Linked DNA regions of Homo sapiens: regions 2, 3, 4 and 5 are each linked to region 1. Evidence: promoter capture Hi-C in human tissues and cell types (Jung and others, 2019). All regions are on one chromosome and are shown on one strand. Each heading gives the region's core, a stretch centred on a gene start or on the middle of the fragment in contact. The rest is flanking DNA. Distances are from core to core; before and after follow the strand shown.

Region 1 (3,188 bases), core at 124-2,623:
GCTTTCAATCTGCCCTTTTCTCCTTTGTTTTTGTAGTTTTCACCAAAGATGATCAACTAGAAATGTTAAGTGGCTATGCAAGCAAAAGCATAGATAGGTTAAAAAAAAGGATCAGCTGGCTGGGCAGGGTGGCTCATGTCTATAATCTCAGCATTCTAGGACAGTGATGTGGGAGGATTATTTGAGGCTAGGAGTTCCAGTTCGAAACCAGCTTCGTAAACATAGCAAGACCCAGTCTCTACCAAAAAAAAAAAAAAAAAAAAAAAAAAAAAAAATATATATATATATATACACACACACACACACATATGTACACATACATATATATACATATATATGTATATATAGAACACATGGCAAGAGCAGGAAATGGGAAGACTACCTTTTTTCTGGCAGCTATGTGTTGTTTTGTTCGAAAGATGGCAAGTGTACAACCAAACCAATCCACTTGCTTACAGAAAGAATGTTTAGTGTAGTTAAGACTAATTTGACAACAGATAAAACAGTCTGTCAGCTATTACAAAGTAATCAGCTGAACACTAATGCTGTTCTGTCTGCTCACAAGAGATAAAGATACCCTCTCATGGAATAAACACCTTGCTTAGAATTCATATAACAAAGAAGTAACCTTATAACTGCTCTCTAGTCTGCCTTATTTGTGTCATAGAGTAAGATATTCCTTGAAAGCCCATTAAGTGGAATAGACTTTCTGAAAATAAGAGTTCTTTACCTCAGTCCTCCTCTAATTTGGTTGAGAGGAGGTAATGAAAATGGGGACAGGATAAAAGGTGGCAACTAAATTTAAAGCACAGAAGAAATGATTTCCTTCTAGCTATGAGAATAGTCAAATTGAGCTTGCCAGGCTGTCTCATTCCTAACATGTAATTCATGATTTAGCCACTAAATTTCTAAGGAGATCATAAGAAATTAAGAAAAACGTTTAAGTCTAGCCTCTGCGTGGTAGACAGGTATGGGGAGGGAGAATGCTTTTCCCCTCCCAGTAATAAAAAAAAAAAAAAAAAAAATATATATATATATATATATATATATATATATATATATATATATATATATATATATAGTTTTACTAGGTTTTCATGGATAAGTTTTTAAATGTAAGACAGGAAAGGGATCTATTTGATGTCTATCTTCAGATATATTGGCAGTTTTCCTTAAGCTATTTAGTTCCTCATCTGTTGCTTTTTCATTTTGTATACTGCAAGTTCCCAGGCAACTCGAATTTGCAAACACAGCCATGGATACACTATTTACCTTACAGTAGTTTCCTGGGAATCTAAGTCTGGTTTTTGTTATTCTTCCCTCCCCTCCACTGCATAATCATGTATAACTAGCAACATTTATGGTTATAGGTTGATTTCCTAAGTGTGGCTGATGGTAGCCTCTAGTTTGAAGTGAGGGAAGAATGAGTAGTCAGGAACTGGTCACTTTGAATGTGGGAGGGAAGATATTCACGACAAGGTTTTCTACGATAAAGCAGTTTCCTGCTTCTCGTTTGGCACGCATGTTAGATGGCAGAGACCAAGAATTCAAGATGGTTGGTGGCCAGATTTTTGTAGACAGAGATGGTGATTTGTTTAGTTTCATCTTAGATTTTTTGAGAACTCACCAGCTTTTATTACCCACTGAATTTTCAGACTATCTTAGGCTTCAGAGAGAGGCTCTTTTCTATGAACTTCGTTCTCTAGTTGATCTCTTAAACCCATACCTGCTACAGCCAAGACCTGCTCTTGTGGAGGTACATTTCCTAAGCCGGAACACTCAAGCTTTTTTCAGGGTGTTTGGCTCTTGCAGCAAAACAATTGAGATGCTAACAGGGAGGATTACAGTGTTTACAGAACAACCTTCAGCGCCGACCTGGAATGGTAACTTTTTCCCTCCTCAGATGACCTTACTTCCACTGCCTCCACAAAGACCTTCTTACCATGACCTGGTTTTCCAGTGTGGTTCTGACAGCACTACTGATAACCAAACTGGAGTCAGGTATTTTGTACTTTGCAGTATTTCTCTTGTATACCAGTTTGTGATGTTTTCTCTAAAAACTTGAAGTTCCTCAGGCCTGTAACTTCTGGAAAAGATGATTATTCAAAATAATGTTTTGGGGTAACCAGTGGAGTTGGGTAGAATGACCAAATAATTATTTTCCAAACTGGGATACTTTTTAGAGTGAAAGGGGCTATTATTAGGTGGGACAAAAGGAATAAATGAAGACTGCCCAGAAAAAACTGAGACTATGGACATTCAAATCATGGGAGAAAATAATTTTGTAGATTATGTTCCATTGCTAATGAATTTGACTTAGAAAAGAATTGCCTTATTTTTAAGAGATTGTTTCAGTGGTTCACATAAAGGCTCGCTCACTGGTTTCTCTTGAGTTCCTTACACACTATATAAGTTGTTCTTTCAGTTTTATGATTCAACTACTGTTTTTCCTTCAGCTGACTTTATTTTTAAACACCCTTAAAGACAGATATATCTCATGGCAAATTTGGTATCCTGTTACAGCCTTGGCTCTTAAACAACTCAAAATATTGGGATAGGCTGTCAGTATGTTAAGGATAGTTGCTCCTGAGTCAATTCTTCACTTACTCCCTCTGTTGTTCTTGGCTGGATCCTAACGCTGATTTCCACTCTGCTGTCACAAACATTTTTCCCCCCGTAAAATGTCTTAATGCTGTCCTACCATTATTTTACCAACTGTGAAAGCTGGCTTTAATTTTTAGGAGGAAAAGAAAAGCCTGCATGTGTTCTTTATTGGTATCATTTAAAATATACTTTTTTTTTTTTTTTTGGTAAAGGTAGGCGTATTTTAAGATATTTTCTTAACTTGAGCAGTAGCCAACAGGAAGGATACCAGTGTCTCTCTCTCTTAGCGACACACTCCTTGGTCTTGCTTACCAACTGGAGGACACTAGGTAGAATAACCGAGTATGACAATTCTTAATTGTTTACATTTTATAACTTCCTGTCCTTCAAAAGAGTTTGAAATGTCATTTTGGGAAAAGAGAGCCAGTCAAGCTAGTAGGCTGATTGTGAAGAAAATCTAATACCTTATCTTTATCTCAAACCTCTGTACAACTTTATTTTCATTGATGGGATACTTTAACAAAAATGAAATTTTTTTTGGTTTTTAAAATATGAGTGATTATGACCTCTTTGGGGATCATGCT
Region 2 (3,228 bases), core at 49-2,548, 490 kb after region 1:
GAAGTCACATTTTGATTGTCCCTTTCCAAGGGAGGGAAACCCCAGGGATCTAAAGCCCTATTTAGCTCCTTGGGGAACGGGAAGGGATGGGGGGATACATTCTTTAAAATTCTTTCTTATTCTGTTAAGCCAGTAAGAAATTAGGATTGCTTATTTGTTAACCTGGTCTCCTTGCTACAGTTTTTGGGAGACATGTTTGCCAATAATTTAAGTTCTAAAATAATGCCCTTAAATGAACAAAAAAATTGTGTTTATTAAATACAAACCAACTAGTGAACAATTGAGGCTTAGGTGAGAATTGGGTCAATGGAATGAGAAGTATATTTTTTCTCATTTCTTTTAGTGTGAAAATAAGGTCATTCTTTGCATTATAAATAGTACATGTTTATTATAGGTAATATCAATAATGTCCGTACTATCACTATTCAAAGATACTAATATTTTAGTGTCTTTTCATCCTGTCTTTTTCCAGGTGTAGTTATTATTCAATTTATAATTTGGCATCCTACCATATATATAATTTAACATCTACTCTTTTAACGTAAGTATTTCTTAATATTATCATAAATTCTTGTATAACATTCTTTTTAATGACTCCATAATATTCTACCAAGTATATATATATTACTACATATAATAGTATTACATATATAATAGTTTAACTATCTTACTATTATCAGAAAAATAATATATTTACTATAAAACTTTTTTTAATACTTTAAGTGTTAGGGTACATGTGCACAACGTGCAGGTTAGTTACATATGTATACATGTGCCATGTTGGTGTGCTGCACCCATTAACTCGTCATTTAACATTAGGTATATCGTCTCATGCTATCCCTCCCCCCCTCCCCCCACTCCACAACAGGCCCTGGTGTGTGATGTTCCCCTTCCTGTGTCCATGTGTTCTCATTGTTCAATTCCCACCTATGAGTGAGAACATGTGGTGTTTGGTTTTTTGTCCTTGCCATAGTTTGCTGAGAATGATGGTTTCCAGCTTCATCCATGTCCCTACACAGGACATGAACTCATCCTTTTTTATGGCTGCATAGTATTCCATGGTGTATATATGCCACATTTTCTTAATCCAGTCTAACATTGTTGGACATTTGGCATGGTTCCAAGTCTTTGCTATTGTGAATAGCACCACAATAAACATACATGTGCATGTGTCTTTATAGCAGCATGATTTATAATCCTTTGGGTATATACCCAGTAATGGGATTGCTGGGTCAAATGGTATTTCTAGTCCTAGATCCCTGAGGAATCGCCACACTGACTTCCACAATGGTTGAACTAGTTTACAGTCCCACCAACAGTGTAAAAGTGTTCCTATTTTCCACATCCTCTCCAGCACCTGTTGTTTCCTGACTTTTTAATGATCGCCATTCTAACTGGTGTGAGATGGTATCTCACTGTGGTTTTGATTTGCATTTCTCTGATGGCCAGTGATGATGAACATTTTTTCATGTGTCTTTGGGCTGCGTAAAAGTCTTCTTTTGAGAAGTGTCTGTTCATATCCTTCGTCCACTTTTTGATGGGGTTGTTTGTTTTTTTCTTGTAAATTTGTTTGAGTTCATTGTAGATTCTGGATATTAGCCCTTTGTCAGATGAGTAGATTGCAAAAATTTTCTCCCATTCTGTAGGTTGCCTATTCACTCTGATGGTAGTTTCTTTTGCTGTGCAGAAGCTCTTTAGTTTAATTAGATCCCATTTGTCAATTTTGGCTTTTGCTGCCATTGCTTTTGGTGTTTTAGACATGAAGTCCTTGCCCATGTCTATGTCCTGAATGGTATTGCCTAGGTTTTCTTCTAGGGCTTTTATGGTTTTATGTCTAACATTTAAGTCTTTAATCCATCTTGAATTAATTTTTGTATAAAGTGTAAGGAAGGGATCCAGTTTCAGCTTTCTACATATGGCTGGCCAGTTTTCCCAGCACCATTTATTAAATAGGGAATCATATCCCCATTTCTTGCTTTTGTCAGGTTTGTCAAAGATCAGATGGTTGTAGATATGTGGCATTATTTCCGAGGGCTCTGTTCTGTTCCATTGGTCTAGATCTCTGTTTTGGTACCAGTACCATGCTGTTTTGGTTACTGTATCCTTGTAGTATAGTTTGAAGTCAGGTATCGTGATGCCTCCAGCTTTGTTCTTTTGGCTTAGGATTGACTTGGCAATGCGGGCTCTTTTTTGGTTCCATATGAACTTTAAAGTAGCTTTTTCCAATTCTGTGAAGAAAGTCATTGGTAGCTTGATGGGGATGGCATTGAATCTATAAATTACCTTGGGCAGTATGGCCATTTTCACGATATTGATTCTTCCTACCCATGAGCATGGAAGGTTCTTCCATTTGTTTGTATCCTGTTTTATTTCATTGAGCAGTGATTTGTTGTTCTCCTTGAAGAGGTCCTTCACATCCCTTGTAAGTTGGATTCCTAGGTATTTTATTCTCTTTGAAGCAATTGTGAATGGGAGTTCACTCATGATTTGGCTCTCTGTTTGTCTGTTATTGGTGTATAAGAATGCTTGTGATTTTTGCACATTGATTTTGTATCCTGAGACTTTGCTGAAGTTGCTTATCAGCTTAAGGAGATTTTGGGCTGAGATGATGGGGTTTTCTAGATATACAATCACGTCATCTGCAAACAAGGACAATTTGACTTCCTCTTTTCCTAATTGAATACCCTTTATTTCCTTCTCCTGCCTGATTGCCCTGGCCAGAACTTCCAACACTATGTTGAATAGGAGTGGTGAGAGAGGGCATCCCTGTCTTGTGCCAGTTTTCAAAGGGTATGCTTCCAGTTTTTGCCCATTCAGTATGATATTGGCTGTGGGTTTGTCATAGATAGCTCTTTTTATTTTGAGATATGTCCCATCAATACCTAATTTATTGAGAGTTTTTAGCATGAAGAGTTGTTGAATTTTGTCAAAGGCCTTTTCTGCATCTGTTGAGATAATCATATGGTTTTTGTCTTTGGTTCTGTTTATATGCTGGATTACGTTTATTGATTTGCATATATTGAACCAGCCTTGCATCCCAGTGATGAAGCCCACTTGATCATGGTGGATAAGCTTTTTGATGTGCTGCTGGATTCGTTTTGCCAGTATTTTATTGAGGATTTTTGCATTGATGTTCATCAGGTATATTGGTCTAAAATTCTCTTTTTTTTTGTTGTGTCTCTACCAGGCTTTGGTATCAGGATGATGCTGGCCTCATGAAATTAGGGA
Region 3 (3,101 bases), core at 41-2,540, 360 kb after region 1:
CCTTGTAGATGTGGCAGTAGTCAAGAAAAACAAAGACCTTTCCTACCTGAAGCTTGTGTTCCGGTAGAGAAAATGGATAAACAGATAAAAATAATAGACATTGCATATACTTTCAAGTAATGATATGTGCTACGAAGAAGAAAAAAGGCAGTGTAGGAGGTTGTGGGTCGATGGGATTTCTCTTAGATTCACAAATCAAGAGGTGATCAAATGAAACTTAACCAAAAAAGACAATGACTTCTCTCTAACCAAACTTGATTACTGATAGTCTTTTTCCAAGTCAGCTTAATGTGCTGTTCAAGAGAATCAGTGTGGAAGGAAGGAAATGTGCAAGAGAGTCCTGTATCAGACACAGTGGGCAGGGAGCTTTACATCTCTCATCTTATTGGGCTTTGACAACACCCTTCAAGATAGGTGCTGTTGCAGATGAATGACAACCTGAACTTCAGGGAGGCCAAATAATGTGTCCATGTGGAGTGTCTGAGTGTGTAAGCCAAGGTTCAAACCCCGGCCATCCTGGGCCACTTGTCAACACCAGTTCTACAGTTGAATTCTATGAATACTTATCAGGTGCTGACTTCATGTCAAGCCCTGTTCTTCATGCTTAGCATACACCAGCAAATAGAATAGACAGAAATCCCTGCCATTTCAGAAAGTAACAAGTGTTGACAAGGATGTGGAGAAATTGAAACGCTTGTGCACTGTTGGTGGGAATGTAAAATGGCACAGGTACTATGGGAAACAGTATGGTAGATCCTCAGAAAATTAAAAATATAATTACCATATGATCCAATGATTCCATTTCTGGAAATATACCCAAAGGAATGGAAAGCAGGATCTTGAAGAGATATTTGTAGACTCATGTTCATAGCAGCATTAACCAAAAGGTAGAAGCAATGCAAGTACCCGTCAACAGGTGAATAGATAAATAAGATGTAGCCTATATGCATTTACCACACATGGAATATTATTAAGTCTTCAGAAGGAAGGAAATTATGACATATGCTATAACATGGCTGAACCTTGATGACATTATGTTAAGTGAAATAACCCAGTTACAAAAAGACAAATATATGGTTCTGCTTATATGAGGTACCTAGACCAGTCAAATTCATAGAGAAAGTAGAAGAGTGGTTGCCAGGGGCTGGCAAAAAGGGGAAGTGGGGAGTTAGTGTTTACCGGGTACAGAGCTTCAGTTTGAGAAGATGAAGAGTTCTGGAGACGTATAGTGGTGATGGTTGCACAACAGTGTGAATGTACTCAATGCCACTGAATTGTACACTTAAAAATGGTTAAAATAGTAAATTTCATATTATGTGTATTTCACCACAATTTAAAAAATCTCTGCCCTTGTGGAGCTCATGTTTTAGTTCAGGGACATGAACAGTGAACAGATTAAATATGTAAATCATAAGCTATTAGAAGGAGATGAGTGATATAGAAACAGAACAGATTGAAGAAGATTGGGAGGGCTGCGAGCAAGGAGAGTGTGTTTTCAGTTTTAAACGGGGTGGTTAGTTTCATGGTCTTCTTCAGCTAGAGTTAAAATAAGTCGTCAATAAAGCTTGTCAGCCATGAAACTGGGGTATCTTCCTTGGCATCCATGCTTTGCCCAGAACACTCTGACTTGTTGGAATCTTGAGTGGAAATTTAAAGTCTCTCAGAAATAACTTTCAAGTTTCAGTGTAGGAAGTCCAGAGCACACAGAGGGGAGGAGGGACTGTCACTGGGCAGCATCCAGAGGGACTTCATTTTCAGTGTGTGAGGGAGACAGCCAGGCGGGGCGTGCACATTCAGGGAATAATAAACAGTAAGAGGGAGAGGGCAGAAGACAGGTGGAGTGTGTTGGAGGTGGGTACACTAAGGCAAGGCAGGAGGCTCTAAAATTTGTAGGCTGGATGATGGGAAGTAAGTGCAGTGTTTAAATTTTTATTGTAAATTAGTTATTTACTCCATCCATTGATTCCTCTAGCCAGTGTTGGAGGGACCAGCTTGGCACGTGCTTCTGGGCTCCTTCCTGGGGATTGGGTGCAAGAATGGCTGCCCTCAGAGAATGAATCACAATCTGGTAGGAAAGTAAAAACATATGCACATTGGGAATATTTAAATAGCAAGGCTGTGTAGTTTATACCAAGATGAGTGATCCAGACAATAGATGCTGTAGACAAGGAAGACAGTCAAAATATCTGTCAAAATTTCTAACAGCCAGTACTGCACAGGCATCAGACTGGATTGCGATGGATGCCAATCCCATCAGAACACACTGTGGGAGTGGACAATCTGTACCCCATGAATATTAGCCCTGGTATGGCAGCATTGAAGAGCAAAGGTCTCTAGGGACTGGGGCCACTGCGCAACAGTTCAGGGAGGAGATAGAACTCAGACTGAGCCTGGAGAGGTGGGGAGGGAGAGAGAAGCGGGAATAATTAAATTAGTTTCATGATGTAAGTAGGATTCTTAGAAGATTATTCTGACAGATATGTGTGGCATGGAGTAGAGTGGGAGGAATGAAGGAAGAAAATTGGTGAGGAGGCTGTTCTAGGAATTGAGGTGTGAGATGAGAAGAATGGAGGACTCCCTATTGGAGAGAAAGGCTTGACCCGTGAGCCAGGGAGAGCTGAGCGGCGAAGAGTAACTTGGAATTATTCCGCCAAGAGCCAAAGTATTTATTTCTTACCACGAATTGTTAAAATGTGACTATGAAGAGTAGTAAAAGCATAATAAGGTGTGAACTTAAACCCTTGACACTCTTTCCTCTCCCTTCCCTGAAATTCCTCTCTTAAGATCCAACAAGGGACTTGAAAAATAATATTGTGAAAATGGCTTGCAAGACACAGCTGGATTCCTCACAGGACTAGCTTTGTTAGCAGAAATTGCTCTAGGATCTGCAGTATGCAGAGCACAGGGGTGGGCAGATCAACCTCAGCCTCTGGATTGGGTTTGGGAGAAAGTCTCTTTAAAGCCCCCAGCACTATTCCTGGGAAGCCCCACTTTAGGAGTTATGTCCCGGGAAGGTTCCTGACCTGCTGTCCTAGCAAAGCCCAAGCTTCCCTTCTTGTCAAAGTTGGACTTGGGCACCCTGCTGTTCAGCTCTCCACCTA
Region 4 (3,279 bases), core at 345-2,844, 420 kb after region 1:
CCTGGGCTCAAGCTATCTGCCCACCTCAGCCTCCCAAAGGGCTGGAATTATAAGCATGAGCCACCATGCCTAGCCAATAAAATTATGTTAACATCTATGTAATGTCCAATATTGGTTCTCTTTCAATGGCAATTATCTTCCAAGTAGTCATTTATGGCTCCTTATTGGGCTTCTTCCATCTCTGGCTCTGCCATTTTTGACCTAGGGCTTCTAAGGTTGCCACACCCATCTACATCAAGCTGACATTGTTCCAGAAATTTTTTATAGGCTAAGTCCTGGGGATGGTATACATCACTTCTGTTCATATTTCATTGGCTGGACTTCAGTTATGGCTGACTTCAAGGGAGGCTGGGAAACTGGGGCAAGAATAGAAAATGCTTGGTGAACAGCTAGCTAGTTTCTGTGTAGGAGTGTTTTTTGTTATAAGGATTTTACAGATTTAAATTTAAATTTAAAAGTCCATGAACATGGTTTTTCATCTCTGTCTTCTGTGGTAGTATGTTGACATCATATGGCCAGGTCACTCACCACCCCCTCCCCCCACCATCCCCAAGGAAACTCAGTCTCAATAAGGACATTTCTTGGGGAGGGGGAAGGTAGCTCATCACACTAACACCAAAGCTCTCAGAAGTTGCAAAGCTTGAATTTTTAAGAAAATGTAAAGGGACTACAGCTTTATAATGAGCATTTTAAACAGAAAAGAACAGATTTAATAGAACTTTTATTAAAGTCAAGCAGCGATATCTTCATACTTCATGCTGAGAATTTTTTTCTTTTTCTTTAACTCTTGAATGTCTTTTTAATGATTTTTAACAATTTAAATGTAGAAACTTATGTTCTATTTTCTAGAGTTTTGATTTTAGACAAAAAGGCATTTGTATAAAGAATCCTTTAGAGTGTTTATACAGAGCTCTATGTTTAGTATTTTTCTTACAAATCTCAATCCCCTGGAGTCATGGGGCACTCAGAGCCCAGGGACTCAAGTTCACCATTAGTTTAATGGTTTTGACCTCTGCTCTAAAGTGGATTTGTACAGAGAGTCATGCCTTGCATGTCCCAGAGTCATTAGCTTGGCATGAAATGGTTCTACTGCTTATGTTGCAGTATAATTGTTTCTGAGTTGGGCTTCTGTAAAATGATTATGTCTACTCGAAGACCTGAAGAATTTAAGAGCAATCTGCTCATGGGGTGTCAGTATTTGAGGGCTGGCAACTGGATAATCTTATGTGTAAGATAGAACCTAACTTTCTCTACTCATTTAGTTACCTAGGGTACTGGCTCACTTAAAGATTTGAGAGGCATCTCTTTTCAAGATTAGTATTTCCCACCATGGCTATGGAAACAGTTCTCTATGTCGGCCAAGCCAGCTCTGAGCAATCTTCTGGGAACTTAATATTGTTTATTATTGAATATTTTGTTCATTAATTTGGGGTCCTAAGTATGTCTCAGCTTTTTGATATAATGTCTCCAATAGTGATATTTATTTTAACTCATATGCTAGAAGCCAAAGCTTCATTAATTTGACAATGATTTGCTACATGGTTAACAGGCCAGGTGTCTAGAATAAAAAATCTGCATCAAATAACTTTTGAATGACAAGGTGACCATATTCTGGCCAAAGGGAAGACTTAAATTGAATAAATAAATGTTGTAGTATATTAGAAAGTGGTAAATGCCATGAAGGAAATAAATGGGAGTAGGAAGTTTAAGGGTTGGTAGATATTGCAATATTAAATATGGTAGTCAGGGAGGATGTTATTGATTATGTGACATTTGAACAAAAACTTAAAGGAGCTGAGGAAAGAGCATTCCAGGCAGAGATGAGAGCAAGGATGAGGCCTTTTAAACTGACTTATTTGAGGAACAGCAAAGAGGCCAACTTGTGTTACTAGTGATAGAGAATGAGGAGATCCTGATAGGAGATGCGGCCAGAGAAGCTGAGTTCTGGGGTGGGAATAGGGTGAGGGGAGCAGAAGAGAGTAAGTCCTGACTAGGAGCAACACCTGAATTTTGTGGCATCCTGGAGGCCAGGCAGAGAAAATGTGTGGAGGAGGGAGTGATGGACTATGCCAAAAGATGCTGGTGGGTCACACGAGGTGCAGTCTGAGAACTGACCACTGGGTTTAGATTTGCATTGAGTAAGTGTAGTGGGATCAAGAGTGAATGGGAGGAGAGAAAGTAAAGATTATTTTTTTAAGAGAAGTTTTGCTGCAGTAAGGTGGTACAAATCAGAAGCAAAGTTGAGAGAGCTCTTTTACTTTTAAGAAGGGAGAAATCATGTGATGTTTGTATGCTGATGAGAATAATCCAGGGGAGAGGGAAAAATTGATACAGGAGTGAGAGGAGAGAATTGATGAAGGTTAGAGAGGAGGGATCTGATGCATGAGAAGAGAGATTGGCCTTAAATACAAGCACGGCCAGTGTATCCATGAGGAGGGCAAATCAATGGGCATGGACGCTGGTAGATGGGTAAGTATAGAGATGGGACCATGTGGACTCTTCTAATTGCTGGTAGGTGGGTAAATATAGAGATAGGGGCATGTGGACTCTTCTAAAGCTTTCTTAGCACAACAAGGAATAAGAGCATCATCTGGGAGCAGGAATGAGAGAGGACTTTGAGGAGAGAGGAGAAGTAATTGTGAGAGAAGGGAAATGAATGGGGCAAGGGGTGTTATTGTGATTGCTCAGCAGCATTTTGGTGGTCATGTCTACGAAGGACTTAAAGACAGGTAAGAATTGAGGTGTGAGAGGTAACCAGGGGTCAGATGTACTAGAGCCTTTTGGGCTGTGGTCATGACTTTGGATTTCATTCTGAGTGAGATGGGCAGCTGTTGGAGAATTTGAGCAGTGGAGTGACACTATCTGACTTAGGTTCTAAAAGGATCACTTTGACCACTCTGTGCAGAATATTTTGCAGGAGCAGAAGCAGGACCAAAACTAGTTCAGCAGTCTAAGAGAAAGATGATGGTGGCTCCAGCTAAGGTGCAAGTGGTGAAGGGGAGAAAAAGAGCTGGATTTGAGATAAATTTTGAAGGCAGAGCTGACAGGAATTGTCAATTAAAAGAAGAGTGTGAGAAAGAGGCATTAAGGATGAGTTTAAGATCTAATCTTGAGCAATGCATAAATACTAGTGCTAATTAGATATCAGATTTCTCAGTCCCCAATACACCTATAAGATCAGCACAAACTGAGCTGGCATTCTTAGCCATGTAGCAAAATGATCCCCATGTAGACTGAGGCAGTAGTCTCCTTCAGGTTAATGTTGCTAATAGCCTCATA
Region 5 (2,846 bases), core at 205-2,704, 370 kb after region 1:
AAATATTTAATAGGTTGAAAGCCTTTACAAGGGAGAACTCTGGTCTCCCTGTGAACGATGACCAAATATGGTAAAAATGTTCCCATTTCTGGTGGATCAATCAGTCCTTAAATATTTCTAGAATAACTTCCATGGTTAAAATCTGGATCCAGATTTTCTAATGAGCAATTTGCAGAAAGAACCCACCTGCATCAAATGGCAAAGTCAGAACCACGTGCAAGAGTGAACTGCACAGCCCTTGCTTAGCAACATGCCGCTTGTAGCCCACTGGGGGTGGAGTGCCCTCCAATCCAGACTCTACACTAAGAAATTAGGTAATTCAATGGCAATAGTAATTTTAGCTGCAGTTTAAGGAACGTTTACAGCTTTGAAACAGGAAATGGAAAACAATAAGTAAGAAACTATAAAATAAATTGAGCACATAGCTTTCTGTTACATTTTATACCCAGTGGTATGGAAAGTTTACTTAAGGAAATGACAAGGCTTATTTAGAGGACCAGCAACTTCTGGAGTCTTTTATTGAAATGGAAATGGGAGCAATGTTGGATACTCTTAAGGCTATTTCTTTGTAAATTCCCAATTGGGAAGCTTTAATATGTGTCCAGAAGGATTTAAAGACATTTTTCTTTTAATATTTACATGCCATATTATAATAAGATGAATCTTTGCTGTGAATTTGAATCTGAATATTAATGTTGGCTGTATTTTATTGAGTGATTATAGTGAGCCAGGCTCTGTATTAAGCACTTAAAATGACTGAGCTTATTTAATTTATTTAACATTATGATGTAGGTATTATTATTATCTCCATTTTACAGATGAGAAAACTGAAGATAAGAAAAATTCTGCAGCTTGCCTAGAATATGGCTGCTAGCAAATGTTGTAAAGGAACTCAGATCTGCCCATTCCCAGAGCCTGAGGTCTTAATCTATTCTGCTGACTTAAATTCTGTATCATGAGTTTCACAACCTGAAGCTTGGGAACTCCTGTGGAGCCCTGGAGTGATGTTTAAGGAATACTTCAGTGAGCTGTACACACTACAACTCCCATATTGCATTTTAGTTTTTAAAAATAGTTTCTTTAAAATAAATGCAAGAGGGGTCTCTGAACAATATGCTCAGGTCTCCAAACTGGCTGAATTTACCACGGACTATTTTTCTAGCATTTGGATTTTAACAGAAGCAGAGCAAAGTTGGGATGACCACACCCTTCCTGGGCTTCAAGGACTTTAAAAATGTCCTGGCTGCCCCAGAAGTTGGAGAGCTCTACATTTCAGCGTTGGTGGTGTGTGTTGTCTGAATGAAATGGGTTAGGGGTAGTGGGGAGATAAGAGGATTTATAGCCTAAAGAAGGTCAGGGAATCCCAGTGGCCCACCTGCTTTAGAGTCTCAATTTTCTCAACTTTAAATGGAAATGATATCATTACCTATGTAATCTGAGTGTTGTTAAATGCATTAAATTAGGCAATACATGTGAATAAAGCTTATGAGTTATTATTTTGGAGGTATTTAATGTGTTCTCCCCTCCTTGACAGTGGGCTGATATTTTACCATCCTGTTTCTAAGGCCCTGTTAAAGTTGTTTTTCTGAGCGTGCTCTATCCATCAGGATCCTGGCAGGAAACAGATGGTGCGCTCATGCTGGGAAGAGTTTAATAAAGGAACTGTTTACAAAAGTGTGCGCAGGATTTAGGAAAAGCAACAAGGGATGTTGCAGCGCCCCAGTAGAGGGCCATTACCAACACTAAGCCAGAAGGGTGGAAGGAAAGGAGTGTTTACCAGCACCTAGAGAGGTTTTTGAGAGGGCTGCCTGATAGTTAATGTGGCCTTTGGTGGAGGAATGCAATCAAGTCACAGAAACCTACCAGGGAGAGATCTTGGGGGAAAAATATCCTGACCTCACTTTCCTCCCTCCCTTTAATCTCCTGCAGGTATTCTCCACTGGTTGAATGCAAATGGAAGCCAGAGGAAAAGGGAACCCTTGACACAGTTTTCATATAGATTGGCCTCCAGGGCAGACAGCAGGTGAGAGTGGAGAGTGGGGCTGGGGGACAAAGAGCAGGTATGGAGCACAGCATGTGGCTCTCCACATGTTTACCAGTAACCTTCATCACTCTTGCCAGACTGGACCGAGAATCAACTCAGCCCATAATTATGCTGTCGTGGTGCCTCTACCTCCTTTTCTGTGTTTTCTCAATTTCCAGAAACTTATTCTCCACTTCCAAGCTGTCTTGTGTTCTTTTGCTCCTCTAAGTCTTCTTATTGTGGAAAAATGAACACAAAAAGTTAACTCACACACTTAAATGTCTTATGCCTAATTGTTACTTTAAAATGTGCATACTTATTTTCACTTCTGGGATGGCTAAATTGCTACCAGACTGACCACAGATAAACAATACAAAGAACAACTATCTGAAGGTGAGTAACTGTAAGCAGATTATGGGGATTAGTTGGCACATGTGTGAAAGGATAAGACAAGGTGTGTCTTCCCCTATTTATGGTTTTTAGCTTAAGAGCAGGCCTTAGACAATGCCCATAGTCTTTCTGGCCTGACGAACTAGAAGAAAAAGTTGAGAGCAGCCAGAGCCAGAAGAAAGTGAGAGGAAACCTCTAAAAGAAGAGTGCCAGAGAGGGGAGCCCCAAATTCCATGCATCAGGTGCCCAACTTTCTGGCTGAGTCCCAAACTTTGTGTGCATGTGGCACACTGCAAGCAGCTCAGTAAAGGGTCAATGACCTAACTGAGATAAGAGCTACTGCCCAAAAGACAGAGTTTGCAGTTTTGTCAAAACAAAAACATCACACTCGACGGGAGAAGTGTAACAGAAATGCAGAATCTCCCTAACAAAA

The links. The method cuts DNA at HindIII sites, captures the fragments that hold promoters and counts their contacts. A contact is called where the count stands out against the background at its distance.
Region 2: a fragment that was not itself captured here is called in contact with the fragment with the promoter of KCNRG in region 1 in 1 of the 25 tissues and cell types used here (dorsolateral prefrontal cortex).
Region 3: a fragment that was not itself captured here is called in contact with the fragment with the promoter of KCNRG in region 1 in 1 of the 25 tissues and cell types used here (H1 embryonic stem cells).
Region 4: a contact is called between a fragment that was not itself captured here and the fragment with the promoter of KCNRG in region 1, in 1 of the 25 tissues and cell types used here (dorsolateral prefrontal cortex).
Region 5: a contact is called between a fragment that was not itself captured here and the fragment with the promoter of KCNRG in region 1, in 1 of the 25 tissues and cell types used here (hippocampus).

Annotation. Positions count from the first base shown.
Region 1 is chr13:50,014,071-50,017,258 of GRCh38, forward strand. KCNRG (potassium channel regulator) reads left to right here and starts at 1,374. Exons shown (of 2, transcript NM_173605.2): 1 at 1,374-2,001. The coding sequence starts at 1,424. It overlaps TRIM13 (tripartite motif containing 13), which reads left to right. Exons shown (of 2, transcript NM_213590.3): 2 at 1-3,188. All of the region lies in intron 10 of DLEU2 (deleted in lymphocytic leukemia 2), which reads right to left. The HindIII fragment of the contact is 16,932 bases long and covers 1-3,188 here.
Region 2 is chr13:50,502,340-50,505,567 of GRCh38, forward strand. All of the region lies in intron 5 of DLEU1 (deleted in lymphocytic leukemia 1), which reads left to right. Among named protein-coding and RNA genes, the nearest start is that of DLEU1-AS1, 23 kb to the right of the region's middle. The HindIII fragment of the contact is 5,430 bases long and covers 1-3,228 here.
Region 3 is chr13:50,369,336-50,372,436 of GRCh38, forward strand. All of the region lies in intron 2 of DLEU1 (deleted in lymphocytic leukemia 1), which reads left to right. Among named protein-coding and RNA genes, the nearest start is that of DLEU1-AS1, 160 kb to the right of the region's middle. The HindIII fragment of the contact is 3,571 bases long and covers 1-3,076 here.
Region 4 is chr13:50,436,415-50,439,693 of GRCh38, forward strand. All of the region lies in intron 4 of DLEU1 (deleted in lymphocytic leukemia 1), which reads left to right. Among named protein-coding and RNA genes, the nearest start is that of DLEU1-AS1, 89 kb to the right of the region's middle. The HindIII fragment of the contact is 4,234 bases long and covers 1-3,279 here.
Region 5 is chr13:50,388,269-50,391,114 of GRCh38, forward strand. It overlaps DLEU1 (deleted in lymphocytic leukemia 1), which reads left to right. Exons shown (of 7, transcript NR_109974.1): 3 at 1,930-2,023. Among named protein-coding and RNA genes, the nearest start is that of DLEU1-AS1, 140 kb to the right of the region's middle. The HindIII fragment of the contact is 3,939 bases long and covers 1-2,846 here.